Linked DNA regions of Homo sapiens: regions 1, 2, 3, 5, 6 and 7 are each linked to region 4. Evidence: promoter capture Hi-C in 16 types of primary human blood cells and fetal thymus (Javierre and others, 2016). All regions are on one chromosome and are shown on one strand. Each heading gives the region's core, a stretch centred on a gene start or on the middle of the fragment in contact. The rest is flanking DNA. Distances are from core to core; before and after follow the strand shown. Region 1 has its middle 50 kb from the start of C7orf33. Region 2 has its middle 17 kb from the start of C7orf33. Region 3 overlaps LOC124901766 (a long non-coding RNA gene). Region 4 holds the start of EZH2 (enhancer of zeste 2 polycomb repressive complex 2 subunit). Region 5 has its middle 100 kb from the start of C7orf33. Region 6 overlaps C7orf33 (chromosome 7 open reading frame 33). Region 7 has its middle 81 kb from the start of C7orf33.

Region 1 (2,700 bases), core at 80-2,579, 340 kb before region 4:
AATGACGGGGACACTCTCTTCATACGCATGTCCATTACACCCCCTCACTCTCCATCTTCCACCATAGGTAGCCACTATCTTGATTTTCATGTTATTTAATCTTTTACTTTTCTTTCAATTCTACCCCGTATCTCTAAGCAATACATTATTGACTTTTGTCTGTTGTTCGCCTTTATGTAAATTGAACCACACTGGATGCATTCTTCTATGACTTGTTTTTTTGTTTTTGTTTTTAAGATTCACCAGTATTGATTCTTGGAACTATACTTTCTCCATTTTCACTGCGCATAGTATTCTGCCGTATGAATACGCCAAAATGTACCTATCCACCACTGTTAATGAACATATTGCATTGTTTTATATTTTTACTCTTATAACTAAGGATACTATACATACTCCTGCCAATTATAGTCCTTGTAATATGTTCCTCAGTGTAATTGCAGAGGTGCTAGAAGATTCAACTTTGTTAATTGATGCAAAATTGTCTTCTGATGCAGTTGTGCCTATTCATGCTCCTAACAGCATTGTGGGAGAGGCCTCTGCTTCACAGCCTCAGCAACACTTTATATTATTTTACTTTATTTTTTGCCAATTGAGTGTAAATTGATATCCCTTAGTGGGTTTTATTTTATTGTTTGAGACAGGGTCTTGCTCTGCCACCCAGGCTGGAGTGCAGTGGTGTGTCCATAGCTCACTGCAACCTTCATTTCCGGGCCTCAAGCGATCCTCCCACCTCGGCCTCCCAAAGCGCTGGGATCAGAGGCGTGAGTCATCTCACCAGGCCAGTGGCTTTAAAATTTATATTTTCCCACTTGCTAATGAGGTGGAACATTTTTTCATAAACTTATTGGCCATTTATGTTTTTTCTTCTGTGAAATGTTCATTCATGTCTTTTGCCTATTTTTAAATGTCTTTTTTTTAGTGATTGATTTTTTCATTTATTTAAAAAAATTTTTTTCTTAAAGATTGGTAAGAATCTTTTTTACGTATTCTGGATTCTAATCTTTTGTCCATTCTATGTGTTACAAATAACTGTTCTGGAACTCCTAAAAGAAGATCCCTATTTAGGAATCCTGTCCCAAAAGGATTCACGTCTCGAGTACCAAGTCTGGTGACTCAGCTCAGAGCAGCAGATTCCTGAGTGCTGAGGTTGCAGGGTGCAGCCAGGGCCAAGCTTAGTTTTCCTACTGGGGCAATACAGATGAATAGAAGTCCTGTGACCACTGCATCCATGGTGCTGGTAACCAAACCTAGAATTCTGGGGCTCCAGACAGCGTCTGGGATGCTCTCTGGAGACACAATCATGGGCAAGGGTTTCTATTGTCCCTTCTTCTTCAGCAGTTCTCAGCATCATCTCAGCAGTTCTCAGTTCCCACAAGCTGCCTCCTGCCCGCTTGTCATCAGAGCTGATTGGTCCAGGGAGGCTGAGGAGCCTAATGACCACTCCTGTTCTGTGTGGTCAACGTCCAGCTGGTCAGCGTCCAGAAGCTTCTGCTCAGCAAATAGCCTTTGGCTGCTCACGCACAGCCTCTCTAGCGATGTCTCAGCTCAGTTTTTCAGCGGCTGGCTGGGCTTTTTCAAGGCCCAGCCAGGGTAAGAAATAGCTTGGAGTCTGCCTGCTGTGCCTGGAGAAAGGCAACCCATGTCAGGCTCCGCAGCAGCTCACTGCCAGCACCCTCTAGGCGCTCATCTAATGCGCAGGGAGGCAGAACACAGCTCTCCATGCTCCCTGAAGAGGCCTTTCACAACGCAGAGAAAGAGAGCCCAGCAATACCCCTGCAATGTGTGGGGGACTGAGGTCTCAGAAACAGCCTCTTTGTCAGTATGAAAACAAAGACATGGACCTAAAGTCCTAAATTGTGTTTTCCAAAAGGCAAATACGTAAAATATGTAAACCAACTTTACTTCAACCTTGATTTACAATAACTTTTCCAGATCTGAGAAAATTCCCCAAATTAAAAATCCAAAATGGATTCCCTTGGCATGTTTGAAAACATGCTTCCTCTCTGGTCCAACTATTTTAAAATTCTACTGAATTTTTAAATTTACCGTGGCCGGGCATGGTGGCTCGCACCTATAATCCCAGCACCTTGCAAGGCCGAGGTAGGTGGATCACCTGAGGTCAGCAGTTCAAGGACAGCCTAGCCAACATGGTGAAACCCTGTCTCTACTAAAAATACAAAAATTAGCTGGGTGTGGTGGCACACGCCTGTTATCCCAGCTACTGGGGGAGGCTAAGGCAGGAGAATCACTTGAATCTGGGAGGCAGAGGTCGCAGTGAGGTGAGATCGCGCCATTGCACTCCAGCCTGGGTGACAAGAGCAAAACTCTGTCTCAAAATAAATAAATAAATTAAATTAAAATAATTAAAATTCTAGAGGTGAAGAAAAAACCCTGGTCCTTTATTTTCCGTGAGTGCCCTCAGTACCCCAAAAGAGGGAAAGCTCCCTTTCTGGAGAGGAATTCATTATCTCCACTAGAACTACCTTCCATTGTACACGTTAATTCACATGAGGCAGGCTATCAGGAAGTGAAATCTCTGGGTACCATGAAAACTTATTTCAGTTATTGATTTAAACTTCTTTTCCTGGGAAAAGTATAAAGAAAAAGAGCATCAGAGTTGATTCCATGTTTTAAAATAACCTAAATAGAGATACATTTGCCAATAAAATAACACGAAGTGAGAAAGAAGGGTAGACA
Region 2 (2,700 bases), core at 131-2,630, 310 kb before region 4:
AATTTAACAGATACGACATGCGTGGTTCTCTGTGGAAAAAAAAACTATAAATTTGCTTCAAAATTCATGTACTGAGGAACAAACTTGAATGTTTACTTTTTTTAGGTTTTTAAAATACAGACTAACATAACTGCCAAATAATTTAGACAGAGTTATATTTATACTTCCACATTTCTCCCCTATAATTCATTCTCCTTTGCTTCCCCAGAGAAAGGGGGACGTGTAAGAATATTTATATTCAGCCCTCACTTTGTTGTAAAATCAAAGACCTAAGTAAATAGAGAGGAATTCTGCTTTAAGCTGTGAGAGATCTGTTATCATAATCAGAAGGTAAAAGTAATTTACCAAAGATAAGCATTCAAGCCCTAAATTTTTATCAAGAACAGAAATGTTTCTTAAAGCATGAAGTGTTTTACTAAGTTTTATACAGTTAGGAAAATGCCAATAAAATTTTCACTACCTGTTTTCGTAATAAAATGAATACTGCTGTATTTCATTTTCTGAATTCTGCCTTCATTTTCTTCAGTAAAACTGAAAATTGCACTTAGGAACAGACACACCTGAAAATATATTCAACTGTATTTATCTCACCTTTCAAGGTGAAATTCCAGATTTTAAAATTGTAGTTATCTCAGATGATTACCAGAATGCGATGTAATGATATCTTGCATTTATGATTATTGATGCACCTTTTTATAGATTCATTTTAATGTTGAACTACTTATTTTATATGCATTGATGAGCATAACTGTAATTAGTTGCCTAGTTTGGTAAATGAGTACCTGGGATAATTTATGAGTGCTTCTAATTTTTTTTTCTTTATGTCTTCTAAAAAAAAATGGGATACATGTGCAGAAGGTGCAGGTTTGTTACATAGGCATACGTGTGCCATGGTGGTTTGCTGCACCTATTGACCTGTCCTCTAAGTTCCTTCCCATCACCCCCCACCCCCAACAGGCCCTAGTGTAAGTTGTTCCCCTCTCTGTGCCCATATGTTCTCAATGTTCAACTCCCACTTATGAGTGAGAACATGAGGTGTTTGGTTTTCTGTTCCTGTGTTAGTTTGCTGAGGTTGATGGCTTCCAGCTTCATCCATGTACCTGCAAAGGACATGATCTCATTCCTTTTCATGGCTGCATAGTATTCCATGGTGTATATGTGCCATATGGTTCCATGTCTTTGCTATTGTAAATAGTGCTGCAAGAAACATATGTGTGCATGTGTCTTTATAGTAGAATGATTTATATTCCTTTGGGTATATACCCAGTAATGGGATTGCTGGGTCAAATGGTATTTCTGGTTCTACATCCTTGAGGAACCACCATACTGTCTTCCACAATGGTTGAACTAATTTACATTCCCACCAACAGTGTAAAAGAGTTCCTATTTCTCCACATCCTCTCCAGCATCTGTTGTTTCCTGACTTTTTAATAATCGCCATTCTGACTGGCATGAGATGGTATCTCATTGTGGTTTTGATTTGCATTTCTCTGATGATCAGTGATGTTGAGCTTTTTTTCATATGTTTGTTGACTGCAGAAATGTCTTCTTTTGAGAAGTGTCTGTTCATATTCTTTGCCCACTTTTTGATGGGGTTGTTCGTTTTTTCTTGTAAATATGTTTAAGCTCCTAGTAAATTCTGGATATTAGACCTTTGTCAGATGGGTAGATTGCAAACATTTTCTCCCATTCTGTAGGTTGCCTATTCACTCTAATGATAGTTTCTTTGGCTGTGCAGAAGCTCTTTAGTTTAATTAGATCCCATTTGTCAATTTTGGTTTGAGTGCTTCTAATTTTTAGTTCAGGCTTGACATTTTGATATTGACTTGAGTACTTTATATACCTTGCTGGATATTTTTGATAATTCACACTTACAATGAAGAATATAACTACAGAAACTTATAAGCATAAAGTTAAGCCTGGAATTTATTCATTCAATATTTATTTTTTTGAAATATAATGAGCTTCTGCTGTTTAAAAAGGACTCTCCAACCTGAAAAGCAATTTCTAAAGATATTTATTTTCTTCAAGTCAACTGTATTAGCTATGAATTAGAAACCTAATTTATTTTAAAACTTGAAGCTCTATTTTTAAATCTGGCTATTTTATTTATAAACCTAACTAATTTTTTATGAAAAAGAACAGCCACTTCTTTTTGTCCCTTTATTAATATTTCGATGAACTCTTACCTGACCAAATCATCTTTAAATGTTTAACATGACTTAGAAAATTAAATTCCCTTAGACACTTAAACTCTGATTACAAAATTAACACATCTGGTTCTCTCACTTCAAACACCTAAGAAAATGTCTTAGCTTAAGTTATCTACCCCCGTTGTGTAGCAGTAAGCCTGCCTTCTCATGACAACCTGTCACCTGTCAGCATACTGGCTCCCTCATTGCCTGCTGTCCACTGCCAGGAGGAGACCAAATGACCTGGCCAGTTGGCATCGACAGCTTTAGGTATGGTGGAAACCATATTGTATTCCCTATTGAAAGTGTCCAGACAAGAATTCATGTAAAAGTGGGCTGGGCGCGGTGGCTCACACCTATAATCCCAGCACTTCGGGAGGCCAAGGCAGGCAGATCACTTGAAGTCAGGAGTTTGAGACGAGCCTGGCCAATATGGTGAAACCCCATCTCTATTAAAAATACAAAAATTAGCCAGGCCTGGTGTAATCCCAGCTACTCGGGATACTGA
Region 3 (2,700 bases), core at 80-2,579, 330 kb before region 4:
AGAAGTCTGCTGTTAGCCTGATGGGATTCCTTTTGTATGTGACCTAACCTTTTTATCTAGCTGCCTTTAAGATTTTTTTCTTTAGTATTGTCTTTGGACAGTCGGGTGACCAAGTATGCCTTGGTGATGTTCATTTTGTATAGTACCTCGCAGGTTTTCTCTGAATTTCTGGTATCTGGATATCAAGCTCTCTAACAAAATGAGAAAATTTTTCTTTAATTATTCCCTCAAATGTGTTTTCCAGGTTGTTTGCTTTTTCTTCTCTCTCAGGAAGGCCAATAATTTGTATGTTTGGTTGCTTTACAAAATCCCATATTTCTTGAACATTGTTCATTTTTTTAAATTCTTTTTTCTTTATTTTTGTCTGACTGAATTAATTTGAAAGACCGGTCTTCAAGTTCTCAAATTCTTCTGCTCAGTCCAGTCTATTGACAAAGCTTTCCACTGTATTTTGAAATTCCTTAAGTGAGTTTTTCAATTCCAGAAGCTCTGATTTCTTTTTAGGATGTTTACCTCTTCCATCATTTACTGGATTGCTTTAGAAGTTTCTTCATATTGATTATTAACCTTGTCTTGGATCTCATTGAGCTTCCTCGTAATTCATGCTTTGAATTTATTAGCTATTTCTTCATTTCCATTTTAGTTAGGGACCATCGCTGGAAAGCTAGTGTGATCCTTTGGTGGTGTCACCACATTCGGATTTTTGATGGTGCCAGAATTTTTATATTGATTCCTTATCTAGAGATGCTGGCACTTCTAATTTTTGTAATTATTTTCATGAAGGTAGGATTTTTTTTCTTTTTTCCCCCATAATGTTATTTTTTTGTTGTTACTACTCTTTTCTTTCTTTCTCCCCCACCCTCCACTCTTTAGTGGGTGTGACTATAGAGAATGCTTGGTGAGGTCATTTGGCTTTGCTTCTACAGCCCTATGCACTTCTGTCAGCAGGTTTTATATTGGACTATGCAGTTTGACCTACAAGCTGTAGATGGCACTTATAGGTAAGAGCCTGCTGCTGCCAACATGACTGGGTATATACTTGATCCTTGTTTACTGGGAGAAGTTTCTCTGTTGCCTCAGGTAATGCGCTGATTTGTGGAGTGCACAATGGTCTGACTCCCTGCTCAGCCCCTTCATGGGCGGGGGTAGGGAGCCAACACTGGTGAAGCCAGACCAGGCAGGTCCACCTACGGTCCCTGATGGCAGGCACAAGCACCAGTGCTAACTGAGAATCCAGTAAGCTGTTGCCAAGTGCCCAAAGGCTTGCCTAGGCAGGGAGTTGGGAAACTTCCTTGACCCCAAGTTCTCTGCACAGAGATGGAGGCAGCCTAAATTCCTAATCCAGGAGAGTAGGTGCTCCAGATGCCTGGAGATCTGCCTGGGTGTGGAACAGAGAGGGCCCCCTTGTACCAGGGTTTCTGCCCATGAAGGATATGGCTCAGGCTGATCCAGACAAGCAAGTGCTCCGAGTGCCTGGATTTCTGCCTAGGGGTGAAGCAAAGAGGGCCCCACTGCACCATGATCTCAAAGGAGCAGTTGGGGCACACAGTAATGGCACACACAGACCACCAAGGTGGTCACCAACCTGGCCCTAGCTACAAGTCTCACTGCCCAGGAGAAACTACAGCTGTAGAAGCTCTCCTCCCACCGGAGACTTGTGTTGGAAGAGAGCACAATCCCAGAACCTACTGCTGAGGAGCTTTCCACAGTTCTGACTGTAGAGGTTCCTACCCTGCTCTAGAGGAGGTGCTCCAATCTCCGGCCCAAGACTAAAATTCCTGCATGACTATGCTGTTAGGTCGCCAAATAATGGCTGACTTTGTATGCCTCCAGATTAAAAATGGTGTCCTGCTCTTGATCCTGGGTCTGGAAAAATGTCTATAGCTTTGTCTGGTGTCTGTCCTCAGCATCTACAACACTGTCCCCACATTAGCTCCAGGGCTTGGAAGAATGAAAGTGCTCTCCCTCAGCCTGGATTGCTGAGATCCCCGGTGGAAAGGTGAGTCATAGAGGGAGGTTCTCTGCCTCTCTCACACATGGGGGCTTCACTAACTTTAATCAGTGGGATGCCATCATGGAGGCTGTTTACCAGTATTCTCCTCCACAGGATCTGGGGCGTCCTTCATGATTCTGGTGGATTTCCATTTTTCTTCTTGAATTAAACTCACAGAGTTGATCTTTGTGCACCATCTTGCTATTTCCAAGTGGCTGAGGCATGCTGAAAGCTTCCAATCCACCATGTTGGGAAAAAAAGGTGGGGAGTGCTTTCTTTTTTTATTCTCTTCTTTCCTGCTTTTAATTAGCTTTCCTTTGTTCTTTTTTTTCACTATTAATTGATAAGTTTACATTATTTTACTATTTTTCTCAGGTTATCCTTAAATTTAATATTTTATAACAAAACCTACAGTCAATTAATTTCTATCTTACTCTACTTCCAACCTCCAGGCAAGAAGAGAATCAGTTCACTTTTATTCTACCTTCCCTGGCCCTCCTCCATTACCTCCATTTCCTGTGACTTTCATAGTGATGTGGTCTGGGATGTTAGGTGTTAGGTTCAATATTTTTTTCAATTTATAAATAATAAAATCGTATTTAATAAAAAAAATGTTGTGGGTTTTGGGTTTTTTGTTGTTGTTTTTGTTGACCAATAGTTTCCTGTATCTCACTATTTCCCCCTGGATTCATTATTCTTCTTATTGG
Region 4 (2,700 bases), core at 19-2,518:
CACCTACTTCTACCACCTCATCCTCATTCAACCCGTCGGGATTTGGGGAATAATCTGGCTGAATGACAGTTGATTTCGTTAGCACCTGTCGCCATTCTCAGATGTATCACACAAGTTGGCCAAAACAGCTTGTAATGTTTAAGGATTACGATTCTTTAGAAAGTGGCAACTCACTAGGCGTTCACCAAGTTTTCCAAAAGATCGTGCTTCTCGATTCCTCCCGCTTTCAAAAAGTAACCCTGTGGCACAGATTTTTGGGGGGAACGGAAGGGGATGTACACAATGAAGTGGGAATTCAACAGGACGCCCTCCAGAAACACAATCAATAGAGAGCAGAGCAGCTCGACTCTTCCCTCAAACTTAGCATAAAGCCAGACCAGGCGGCGAGGGCAGCCCGCGACCGCCGGAGCTCAGGGGGATTTCGGGGTGCGTCGTGGGGAAACGTCAGAGGCGAAGCTACTCCGAGTTCCCCGCCGCGAACGTCGTCCCGCGAGCGCCGCGGCCCCAGCCCGGGGTCGGCGCGCCCGGGACCGGGGGCGTGCGCGAGGCGAGGGCCGAGCCCTGCCCACCCCGGCAGCGGCCCGCGCCTCCCCACGCCCCTCTCCCGCCCGCCGGCGGGCCCGGGTGTCATGCCCCTTCCCCTCGCGCCGAGCCCTCCGGAGACACAGTCCGTCCTTTGTCTGAGTGCGGACTCGGCGGCTGGGTCCCACCAACTTGTGTCTGTCCCGTCCCACCCGGGCGCTCCCGCCGCGGCCGCGCCACACAAAGGAGACTTGAGGCTCGAGCTGCCACCCTGGACCGGGCACCGGAACGCCCCGACCCCGGCCCCGGCGCCCCGGCCAGGACAAGCACCGGGAAAGGAGCCCCCCACACGCCCCCCGCCCCGCAGCTCCAGGGGTGTGCGCTGCCTCACTCGCAGGGTCCCGCGGGCCAGCCCGAAGCTCACAGCTCCTTCCGGGGAGGGGGGCTCTCCCCTCACCCTCCACCCCCCGCACGCCTACAAACGCGGCGCCCCGGTGAGCCCCGCTCGGCGATACCCGGGACCGGCACAGCAGTGGCGGGGAGGTCCTGGCGCCGCCGCCGCCGCCCGGTTCGCACTCCCGGAGCCCCGCCGGCCGGGCCGCCCGCAGCGGCGCGTTACCTTCGTCCCGCGCGCCGACTCGCGTTGTTCCCGCGCGTCGCCCCCGCGCGCCGCCGCCGCCGCCGCCGGGGCTCCACTGCCTTCTGAGTCCCACCGGGTGTCGGACGCGACCGGACCGAGCGCCAAACGCGGCAGCCCAATCGCCATCGCTTTTATTTGGCCCCCCCAGCCCAATCAAGCGCCGCCCCGATTGGCGGGACGCGAGGCGGGCGCCCGTCCAATCACAGGGCCCGCCGGGCTCGGAGGCGCCGAGCCAGCCCCACGCAGAGTGCGCTCAGGGCTCGTGGGCGGGCGGGCACTGGCAGCGCGTGCGCGCGCGGGCGGCGGCGGGGTTCGCTGTAAGGGACGCCACTGGCCGTGTGGAAGCGCCGCCGCCGTCTCTTTGTTCTTTCGCTGAACACACGGCGCCTCTCAGGAAGGCGGTGTGCAGGCACGCGGGGACCGGGAGACATCGCGGGGGCCCGGAGCCCGCCGCGGACGGGAGGCGGGGAGGATAGGTGGCGGGAACCGGCCGAAGGGCGGGACGAAGCGCCGGCGGCTCTTGGCGGGAACCGGCGCCGCAGAGTTCCCGGGCGGGGGAGGGGCGGGGCGGGTGCTGGAAGCCAAGTTTGAACCAGTTCAAAACTCGGGGGTGGTAACGGTTTTAACCGCCGCGCTCGTTTCCCCGCGCGCGGAGCCGAGGCCCGGGCTGGCCGCTCCTAGTGGTGCCCGGGGAGGGGAGGGCGCGGGCCCCGGAGGTCGGCTCAGCTGTGGCGCCGCGTTTGCCGGGAGACGCTCGCCCGGCCCGCGCGCTGCCGCCGGACCCGTTACTACTTTTTTTTTTTTCTCCTGAGACGGAGTTTCGCTCTGGTTGTCCAGGCTGGAGTGCAATGGCGCGATCTCGACTCACCGCAACCTCCGCCTTCCGGGTTCAAGCGATTCTCATGCCTCAGCCTCCCGAGTAGCTGGATTACAGGCATGCGCCACCACGCCCGGCTAATTTTCTATTTTTAGTAGAGACGGGTCTTGGTCAGGCTGGTCTCGAACTCCCGACTTCTGGTGATCCGCCCGCCTCGGCCTCCCAAAGTGCTGGGATTACAGGCGTGAGCCACCGCCGCCGACCCGGGCCCTGTTTGATTATGTCTGCTGCTGCCTTGGCCGTTTTTTCCCCCACCGCTGGACTTTGGCTGGCCGAGCTTGCAGTGCTTATCGCCCTAGAAACCTGTGAAAGGGCGACATTGCTGCCATTTCAGACCCTTCCACTGTTCGTAGTTCTAAGCACGTGTCAGTGTTAAAAATCCTTTATCAAGATGAGCACTGTTCACTTGCCGCCTCTGCAAAGTGTGAGGATATTTGCAAGGCGCGGTGGCTCACGCCTGTAATCCCAGCACTTTGGGAGGCCGAGGCGGGCGGATCATAAGGTCAGGAGATCGAGACCATCCTGGCTAATAACGGTGAAACCCCGTCTCTACTAAAAATACAAAAAATTAGCCGGGCGTGGTGGCGGGCGCCTGTAGTCCCAGCTACTCGGGAGGCTGAGGCAGGAGAATGGCGTGAACCCGGGAGGCGGAGCTTGCAGT
Region 5 (2,700 bases), core at 9-2,508, 400 kb before region 4:
TTGTTGCAAGCAAACTGCCTCTGTTTTTCTTAAATTGTTATGGATTGCCGAAGCTGGAAGAAAACCTGCGTAGTTCCGGGTGCCAGCTCCTGGTCTGGTAGAAAGTTATTCTGACAAGCCATGGTGTGCACCTATATGTGTTTGGATAAGAGCACTGGGGGACCCCCATCCACACACTAAAGGAGGTTTAAGAAACTCAGGCCATGAACGGCTAAAGCACAGGGCTTGGTTTCAGAGAGCCAGAGAAGGTTAGAGCTAGAAAGAAGTTGTTTTACAGATGGGGAAACTGAGTCCTGAAGAGGATGCTTAACTTGCCCAAGGTCACGTGTCTAGTAGACCACTGGAAACTCTCTTGATACCTGGAGCCCTTCAATAAATGGGCAGGTAAACTGGTCTAATCTTTCTGGAAAGCAACTCGGAAATTGATCATATGCTTAGAGCCAGGACTTCCTGCCCATACTGACTTTTTTTTTTTTTTTTTTTTTTTTTTTTTGAGACAGAGTCTCAGTCTGTCGCCCAGGCTGGAGTGCAGTGGCGCCATCTCCGCTCAATGCAAGCTCCGCCTCCCGGGTGCACGTCATTCTCCAGCCTCAGCCTCCCAAGTAGCTGGGACTACAGGCACCCGCCACCACGCCTAGCTAATTTTTTGTATTTTTAGTAGAGACGGGATTTCACCGTCTTAGCCAGGATGGTCTCAATCTCCTGACCTTGTGATCCGCCCACCTCGGCCTCCCAAAGTGCTGGCATTACAGGGGTGAGCCACCGCGCCTGGCCACCATACTGACTTTCAAGCTGCAGAAGTGGGGCCTTTCCCTAGCCTTGCGCTTTGGAGAGCCCCTCCCTTCCCACCCTGCCGCGGGTGTCATCTCCCCACCAGGCAAGGAGTAGGAAGAGATCAGGGAACATGCCCATGCCTCACCAATCCCCCTAGATCACACTCCAGCTTCCTGGAACTCTGGAATTCCCTGCCCAAGCAGTCCTAAGCCAGCTTCCAGGACCTGAGCATATCACCCAAAGGGTAGCAAGGCGTGAAGGTTTATGGGAAGGGAAAGTGTGGTCAGCCCTAGAAGCTTCAGTGTGCAGGCTGAGGTGCCAACACGCATGCGCACAAGCCCCCTCCCAGTGAGAGACAAAGCTGGGGGTGGGAAGAGGAGGCGGTCAGGCCCCGGGTCAGTGCCTGGGGTCCGTTCTCCCCACGCCAGCATGTTCCATTACAGAACTCCAAGGAACCTACAAATTCTAAATTCAAACCTTGTATTTCAGGCCATTTTGAAGGTATATTTGTCAAGGTAGATGGCTAGAATATATCTTATATAAATTATCAATTTGTTTGCTTGATTTATAACTTAAATATCTAGACACATTTTTACTTTTGCTCTGAGCTCAGCAAATCAGGAATAGACTGATTTTTCTCAATACTCAAAAGACATAATCAGAAATGCAAACAAAGCTTTATGCACAAAGATATTTAAAGTATATTTTATAAGAGCCAAGAATATGTATCATCTTAAAAGTCCAATATTAAGTGAAGTATTAACTAAATTATATTATACCCTAGATGTAAGATCTCTCAAAGATTTTAGGCTTGAATGATTGGAGATGGAGGAAGAACAAGTTGCAGGAGACGGTGAGGAGTTGCAAACCAAGAGTTCCATTGTGGACATATTATGTTTGAGATGCCTGCAGGCAAGCAGGTGGTTGGTTATACAAATCAAGAACACAGGGCTAGAAATATAAATTTGAGATTCACATAAATAGAATTATCATGTATATATGATCATATCAATATGATTACATCTATATATAAAACCATTGGAATCATATATGATCATATGGATAGATGTAATATCTATTGGTTGGTTTAAGCCACTCTACTGAGAGCCGTAGGGCAATGCCTATGGCGAGAGGGGAAAACACTTCTCTTTCTGAAGCCATCAGGCCTCTTCCTCAGAACACTTGCTTCCTTTCAACCACATCCAGCCTTGTTCCATTAAGGCCCCTTCTGGCTCCCTCTCTTTTACCATAGACTTGAGTGTTTCAGGCCTATTGATGCACTACAGCATTCCGCATGAGCTTTGGAAAAGAGCCAGTAATGGATTAACCCTTTCTACAGCTGAAGTTCAAAGTGCTCCCCCAAGACGGAAGCAGTGAAAGAGAAGGTGGACCACAAACTGCACCCTCCTCCCTCCCCAGGAATCTCACTAAGCTCCAGAAAGAGCTGCAGGTGTCCAAATCAGCAGTGGGTCTCACTGCAATGTGAGTGCATCCATCTTTTTGCTGTTGGGCCCTCAGTGTGGATAAAGAGAAAAAACAAGAGGAAATGTCCTTCAGGGTCGGTTTCATCCTGGACACAGGATAAAGTGGGACACAGGGCCACGTTCCTCTCTTCTACAGGATTCAAACACTCAGCAACACTGCAGTCAAGGGCAAATACATGCATACATGGTTAAATAATTCTGTTTTGCTTCAGGGGGAATTTTGTTGTTTTTTTGTTGTTGTTGTTTTTTGAGATGGAGTCTGGCTCTGTTGTCCAGGCTGGAGTGCAGTGGCACGATCTCGGCTCACTGCAAGCTCCGCCTCCTGGGTTCACGCCATTCTCCTGCCTCAGCCTCCTAAGTAGCTGGGACTACAGGTGCCTGCCATCACACCTGGCTAATTTTTCTATTTCTAGTAGAGACGGGGTTTCACCATGTTAGCCAG
Region 6 (2,700 bases), core at 122-2,621, 290 kb before region 4:
TTTCACTCTTGTCACCCAGGCTGAAGTGCAATGGCACGATCTCAGCTCACTACAACGTCCACCTCCTGAGTTCTAATGATTCTCCTGCCTCACCCTCCCCAGTAGCTGGGATTACAGGCACCCACCACCACATCCTACTAATTTTTGTATTTTTAGTAGATACAGGGTTTCATCATGTTCACCAGGCTGGTCTTAAACTGCTGACCTCAAGTGATCCACCCACCTCACCTCCCAAAGTCCTGGGATTACAGGCATGAGCCAACATGCCTGGCCGACACGATTTAAATCTAATTAGATCACTGGAAGATACAGCAAAGTCTCAAAGTGGTTGTCTATGGATGGCACTATGAGTTACGTATTATTTTTCCAAAGCTCAGAATGTTCTGAATTTCTTTATTTTTGTTATTCATTTTGAGATGGAGTCTTGCTCTTGTTACCCAGGCTGGAGTGCAATGGCTCAATCTTGGCTCACTGCAACATCCGCCTCCTGGATTCAAGTAATTCTCCTGCCTTAGCCTCCCAAGTAGCGGGAATTACAGGCACCTGCCACCACTCCCAGCTAATTTTTTTGTATTTTTAGTAGAGTCGAGGTTTCACCATGTTGGCCAGGCTGGTCTCGAACTCCTGACCTCAAATCATCTGCTTGCCTCAGCCTCCCAAAGTGCTGGGATTACAGGTGTGAGCCACTGCAACTGGCCTGAATTTCTTTAAATAGAGAATCTCTATTGCCTTCATAATAACATGTTTTAAAGTTAGTTTTTATTTTAAATGTTAATTTGAAGTCAAAATGCTTTTCCTCTGACTGGGTGTTTAATGCATTTAGGAAAGGCTGAGCATGAAGCCAGGGTCGGGGGATACAGCCTGTTTGGAGGGGATTGTAGAAACGGAGACTCCCAACTGGGATTGACAGGAAAGGGTCAGAGCCCAGAGAGATGCCTGCTGGAAAAGAAGTGACATGGTTGAATATTTGCCCGGCTAAGTGTCATGCTGGAATGTGATCCCTAGTGTTGGAGGTGGGGCCTAATGAGAGGTGATTGGATCATGGGGGTGGATTTGTCATGAATAGTTTAGCGCCATCCTCTTGGTGCTGTCCTTGCGATAGTGAGTGAGTTCTCACAAGATCGGGTTGTTTAAGTGTGTGGCACCTTCTCTTGCTTTCTTGCTCTCACTTTTGCTGTTCGATGTGCCTGCTTCTACTTTGCCTTCCGTCATGAGTGAAAGCTCCTTGAGGCCTCCCCAGAAGCCGAGCAGACGCCATGTTTCCTGTACAGCCTGCAGAACCATGAGCCAATTAAACCTCTTTTCTTTTTTTTTTTTTTTTTTTCTGAGACAGAGTCTTCGCTCTGTCGCCCAGGCTGGAGTGCAGTGGTACGATCTTGGCTCACTGCAAGCTCCGCCTCCCGGGTTCGTGCCATTCTCCTGCCTCAGCCTCTCGAGTAGCTGGGACTACAGGCATCCGCCTCCATGCCAGGCTAATTTTTTGTATTTTTTAGTAGAGACGGGGTTTCACCATGTTAGCCAGGATGGTCTCGATCTCCTGACATTGTGATCTGCCCGCCTCGGCCTCCCAAAGTGCTGGGATTACAGGCGTGAACCACCGCGCCCGACCAACCTCTTTTCTTTATAAATTACCCAGCCTTAGGTATTTTACAGCAATGCAAAAACAGCCTAATACAAGAAGTAAGAGGAAAGATGATACCAACTTACCAGTAAGGGTACTAAGATGACACCCAAGTAAAATGCAGAACAGTTATCATTTCATTTGCTTGGCAGAAGGAGGGTGACAGTTTGTAGGGAGATATAATCCAACCAAATTGTTTAGGGAAATGTGAAACCAAATGGTTTAGGGAAAATATGATGAAATTCAATATATTTGAATTTGGGAATATATTCAATATATTTCAGTCCAATATATCCTTACAGAGTGAGGTTTGGCATGGTACCACTGTGGATCATTTGTCTTCTATTCAAAAGAAGGACAATGTCTATGTTAATGTTATGGTTCAGGAACCTAACAGCAAGTACAGCCTGCAGCCTGCACTCCCAGCCGCTCCTGCTTACATGAGACAACAGTGAGCCACAAGACAGTGTCCCCATCTGAACATGCTTGGCCCTGGGAATCATTAGGGACTCTTAAGAAGCAGAAAGTCCTGACCACCTAACAATGAGCACCAGCTTTTCACTTAATAGTTTCTGAATATTCACCAGGTCAGGTTTTCTTTTGTTTGTTTTGTATTTTTTGAGACAGGCTGGAGTGCAGTGGCACATTCACGGCTCACTGCAGCCTTGACCTCCTGGGTTCAAGTGATCGATCCTCCTGCTTCAGCCTCCTGAGTATATTATATAATATCTATATTATATGGATATATATTATATAGATATATATCATGTATAATATAGAGATATCTATATTATATAGATATATATTATATAGATATATAATATATAATATAGATATATCTATATAATATAGATCTATATTATATAGATATATCAAATATAATATAGATCTCTATTATATAGATATATCATAGATAATATAGATCTATATTATATAGATATATCTATATAATATAGATATATATTATATAGCTATATATATGCTATTATATATTATATATACTATAGATCTATATTATATATTATATAGCTATAGTATATATAATATAGATCTGTATTATATATAACATATAGCTATAT
Region 7 (2,700 bases), core at 101-2,600, 370 kb before region 4:
CTCCAAGTCCGTAGCTTGACTTTTCACCTTCTTCATGGGGTCTTTTGCACTGCAATCGTTTTTAATTTTGACGAGGTCTAGTTTATCAATTTAACCTTTTATGGATTGTGCTTTCGGTGCCAAGTCCAAGAATTCTTTGCCTAGATCTAGTTCCCAAAAATTGTCTGCTATAATTTTTTCCAAAATTTTTATAGTTTTGTATTTTACATTAAGTCTTTTATCCATTTTGAGTTAATGTTTGCATAAGCTGTGAGACTTACCCAAGGTATTAGACTCTTTTTTTTTTTTTTTTTTTTTGACCATGAATGTCAAATGGCTCCAGCACCATTTGTTGAAAGACTATCCTTCCTCCATGGAACTGCTGTTGTATTTTTGTCAAAAATCAACTAGCCATATTTCTGTGGGTCTTTTTGTGGGTTATCTGTTCTGGTCCATTGATACATATCTATCCCTCTGCCAATACCACATTGTCTTGATTACTATAGTAATATAGTAAGCCTTAACGTTGCGTAGAGTGGTCCCTTCCTTCCACTTTATTCTTCTTTCACAAGATTGCTTAGGGCCTGTGCCTTTCCATAATAGAATAAGCTTATCTACAAAGATTCTATCTGGGATTCTGACAGAAACTGCATTAAACTTACAGACCAGTTTGGGGAGAATTGACACTTTTTTTTTTTTTTTTTTTTTTTTTTTTGAGATGGAGTCTCACTCTGTCGCCAGGCTGGAGTGCAGTGGCGCAATCTCAGCTCACTGCAAAGTCCATCTCCCTGGTTCAAGCGATTCTCCTGCCTCAGCCTCCTGAGCAGCTGGGATTACAGGTACACCCTACCACACCCAGCTAATTTTTGTATTTTTAGTAGAGACAGGGTTTCACCATGTTGGCCAGGCTGGTCTTGATCTCCTGACCTTGTGATCCACCTGTCTCACCCTCCCAAAGTGCTGGGATTACAGGAGTGAGCCACCACACCCAGCTGAGAGTTGACATCTTTACTGCGTTGAGTTTTCTAATCCAAATAGATGCTGAATTTTCTCAAATGCTTTTTTATATATTGAGATGATCATATATCATTTCTTTTTTAGTATTTTGATATAATGAGTAAAATTTTTATATTGCCTAACATTCAACCAATCTTGCATAATTGGGCTTAATAATTTGTTTGTGCTTACATTTGTGAATGCATGTATCTGTATATGATTGCTACATTGCTAGATTAGGTATACTAAAATTTTATTTAGGATTGGGTTCTAAATCAATGACTGATTTTTCTCTTTCATGCTGTCCTTGCAGTTTTGGCTTTAAAATTACATTATCCTCAGAAAAATGAGTTATTGTTTTCCTTCTATTTTTTAGGAGAGTTTCTTTACAAGTAAAATATTTCTTTGAAGTTTTGTTAGGACACCTCTGTTTGGTTTGGTGTTTCTTTTGCAGGCAAATTATTAACTACTTACCGATTCAAGTTCCTTCATCTTAAATTCATTGGACACATATTTTTCTAGGTCCATATCCATTTACTCTGAGTTTTCAAATATGTTAGCAAAAGTTGTTTGTGATATTCTCTTATCTTTGTAACCAGCTGCAACTGTAGTTACACCTCCCTTTTTAGTACAGGTATCGTGTATTTGTGCCTTCTCTGATTTTTCTTCAATTAACCTTGTTTGAGGTTTGGTTATTTATTTATTTATTGAGACAGAGTCTCGCTCTGTCACCCAGGCTGGAGTGCAGTGGCATGATCTCGGCTCACTGCAACCTCCGCCTCCCGGGTTCAAGTGATTCTCCTGCCTCAGCCTCCCGAGTAGCTGGGATTACAGGCGCCCACCACCATACCTGGCTAATTTTTGTGTTTTTAGTAGAGACAGAGTTTCACCACGTTGGCCAGGCTGGTCTCGAACACCTGACCTCAGGTGATCCGTCCGCCTCAGCCTCCCAAAGTGCTGGGATTACAGGAGTGAGCCACTGCGCCCAGCCAAGAGGTTTGGTAATTTTATTAATGATATCAAAGCTGCTCTGTATTACATGTTTATTTCCTTAATTTCTGCTGTTATATCTTCATTTTTTCCTTCCCTCATTATTTTTTAATTCATTTCACTGTTATGATTCCTACTTCCTAAGGCAAAAGCTTAGCTCATTAACTTTTAGGCTTTCTGCTTTCTGTTTTGTTGGAGTAGGGGGTGAGACTAATGATTTAAAGTGGGAAGGCGGTTGTATACATAATAATCAAACTGTAATGTAATATATACTACACTACAAGTAAATGCATGTTGTTATTTATTAACATATTTAGTTTTTATTTTATACAATTTCAAACATATATAAATAATAATATAATGGACCCCAGGTACCATGGCCCAGCTTCAAAAATGATGAAAATCATGGTCAAATTTGCATCAGAGATGTGGTCACTCACATCTGCCCCATCTTGTGTTATTTTGAGGCAAATTTCAGACACCATATGATTTCATCTATAAACATCTCAATATGTATCTATGAATTATAAAGAGTTTAAAAAAACAAAATGCCATTATCACAACTAAAAAAGTAGTAATAATTACTTCATATCATCAAATACAGACTCAGTGTTCAAATTTTGCAAGTCTTTCTTGTTTTTTGTTTGTTTGTTTTGTTTTTGTTTTTGTTTTTTTGAGACGGAGTCTCGCTCTGTCACCCAGGCTGGAGTGCCCTGGCCCAATCTCGGCTCACTG

The links. Contacts are between HindIII fragments. The CHiCAGO score rates a contact against its expected background, and 5 or more counts as called.
Region 1: a fragment that was not itself captured here is called in contact with the fragment with the promoter of EZH2 in region 4 in 3 of 17 cell types (activated CD4 T cells, naive CD4 T cells and naive CD8 T cells); the score reaches 7.9 in activated CD4 T cells.
Region 2: a fragment that was not itself captured here is called in contact with the fragment with the promoter of EZH2 in region 4 in 6 of 17 cell types (activated CD4 T cells, naive CD8 T cells, monocytes and 3 more); the score reaches 10.5 in activated CD4 T cells.
Region 3: a fragment that was not itself captured here is called in contact with the fragment with the promoter of EZH2 in region 4 in 4 of 17 cell types (activated CD4 T cells, non-activated CD4 T cells, naive CD4 T cells and 1 more); the score reaches 7.6 in activated CD4 T cells.
Region 5: a contact is called between a fragment that was not itself captured here and the fragment with the promoter of EZH2 in region 4, in 2 of 17 cell types (monocytes and M0 macrophages). The highest score is 5.5, in monocytes.
Region 6: a contact is called between a fragment that was not itself captured here and the fragment with the promoter of EZH2 in region 4, in 1 of 17 cell types (activated CD4 T cells). The highest score is 6.4, in activated CD4 T cells.
Region 7: a fragment that was not itself captured here is called in contact with the fragment with the promoter of EZH2 in region 4 in 10 of 17 cell types (activated CD4 T cells, naive CD4 T cells, monocytes and 7 more); the score reaches 10.0 in activated CD4 T cells.

The regions. Positions count from the first base shown.
Region 1 is chr7:148,539,059-148,541,758 of GRCh38, forward strand. No RefSeq gene overlaps it. Among named protein-coding and RNA genes, the nearest start is that of C7orf33, 50 kb to the right of the region's middle. RefSeq lists a silencer at 1,066-1,266. The HindIII fragment of the contact is 314 bases long and covers 1,173-1,486 here.
Region 2 is chr7:148,572,650-148,575,349 of GRCh38, forward strand. No RefSeq gene overlaps it. Among named protein-coding and RNA genes, the nearest start is that of C7orf33, 17 kb to the right of the region's middle. RefSeq lists an enhancer at 1-161. The HindIII fragment of the contact is 3,907 bases long and covers 1-2,700 here.
Region 3 is chr7:148,556,052-148,558,751 of GRCh38, forward strand. All of the region lies in intron 2 of LOC124901766 (a long non-coding RNA gene), which reads right to left. Among named protein-coding and RNA genes, the nearest start is that of C7orf33, 33 kb to the right of the region's middle. The HindIII fragment of the contact is 1,788 bases long and covers 436-2,223 here.
Region 4 is chr7:148,883,023-148,885,722 of GRCh38, forward strand. It overlaps EZH2 (enhancer of zeste 2 polycomb repressive complex 2 subunit), which reads right to left and starts at 1,269. Exons shown (of 20, transcript NM_004456.5): 1 at 1,142-1,269. LOC124901767 (a long non-coding RNA gene) reads left to right here and starts at 2,167. Exons shown (of 2, transcript XR_007060579.1): 1 at 2,167-2,461. RefSeq lists silencers at 433-1,022, 1,183-1,552, 1,673-1,902 and an enhancer at 523-1,214. The HindIII fragment of the contact is 14,290 bases long and covers 1-2,700 here.
Region 5 is chr7:148,486,035-148,488,734 of GRCh38, forward strand. No RefSeq gene overlaps it. Among named protein-coding and RNA genes, the nearest start is that of C7orf33, 100 kb to the right of the region's middle. The HindIII fragment of the contact is 380 bases long and covers 1,069-1,448 here.
Region 6 is chr7:148,592,867-148,595,566 of GRCh38, forward strand. All of the region lies in intron 1 of C7orf33 (chromosome 7 open reading frame 33), which reads left to right. Among named protein-coding and RNA genes, the nearest start is that of C7orf33, 3.5 kb to the left of the region's middle. RefSeq lists a silencer at 1,057-1,257. The HindIII fragment of the contact is 5,446 bases long and covers 1-2,700 here.
Region 7 is chr7:148,508,891-148,511,590 of GRCh38, forward strand. No RefSeq gene overlaps it. Among named protein-coding and RNA genes, the nearest start is that of C7orf33, 81 kb to the right of the region's middle. The HindIII fragment of the contact is 1,529 bases long and covers 587-2,115 here.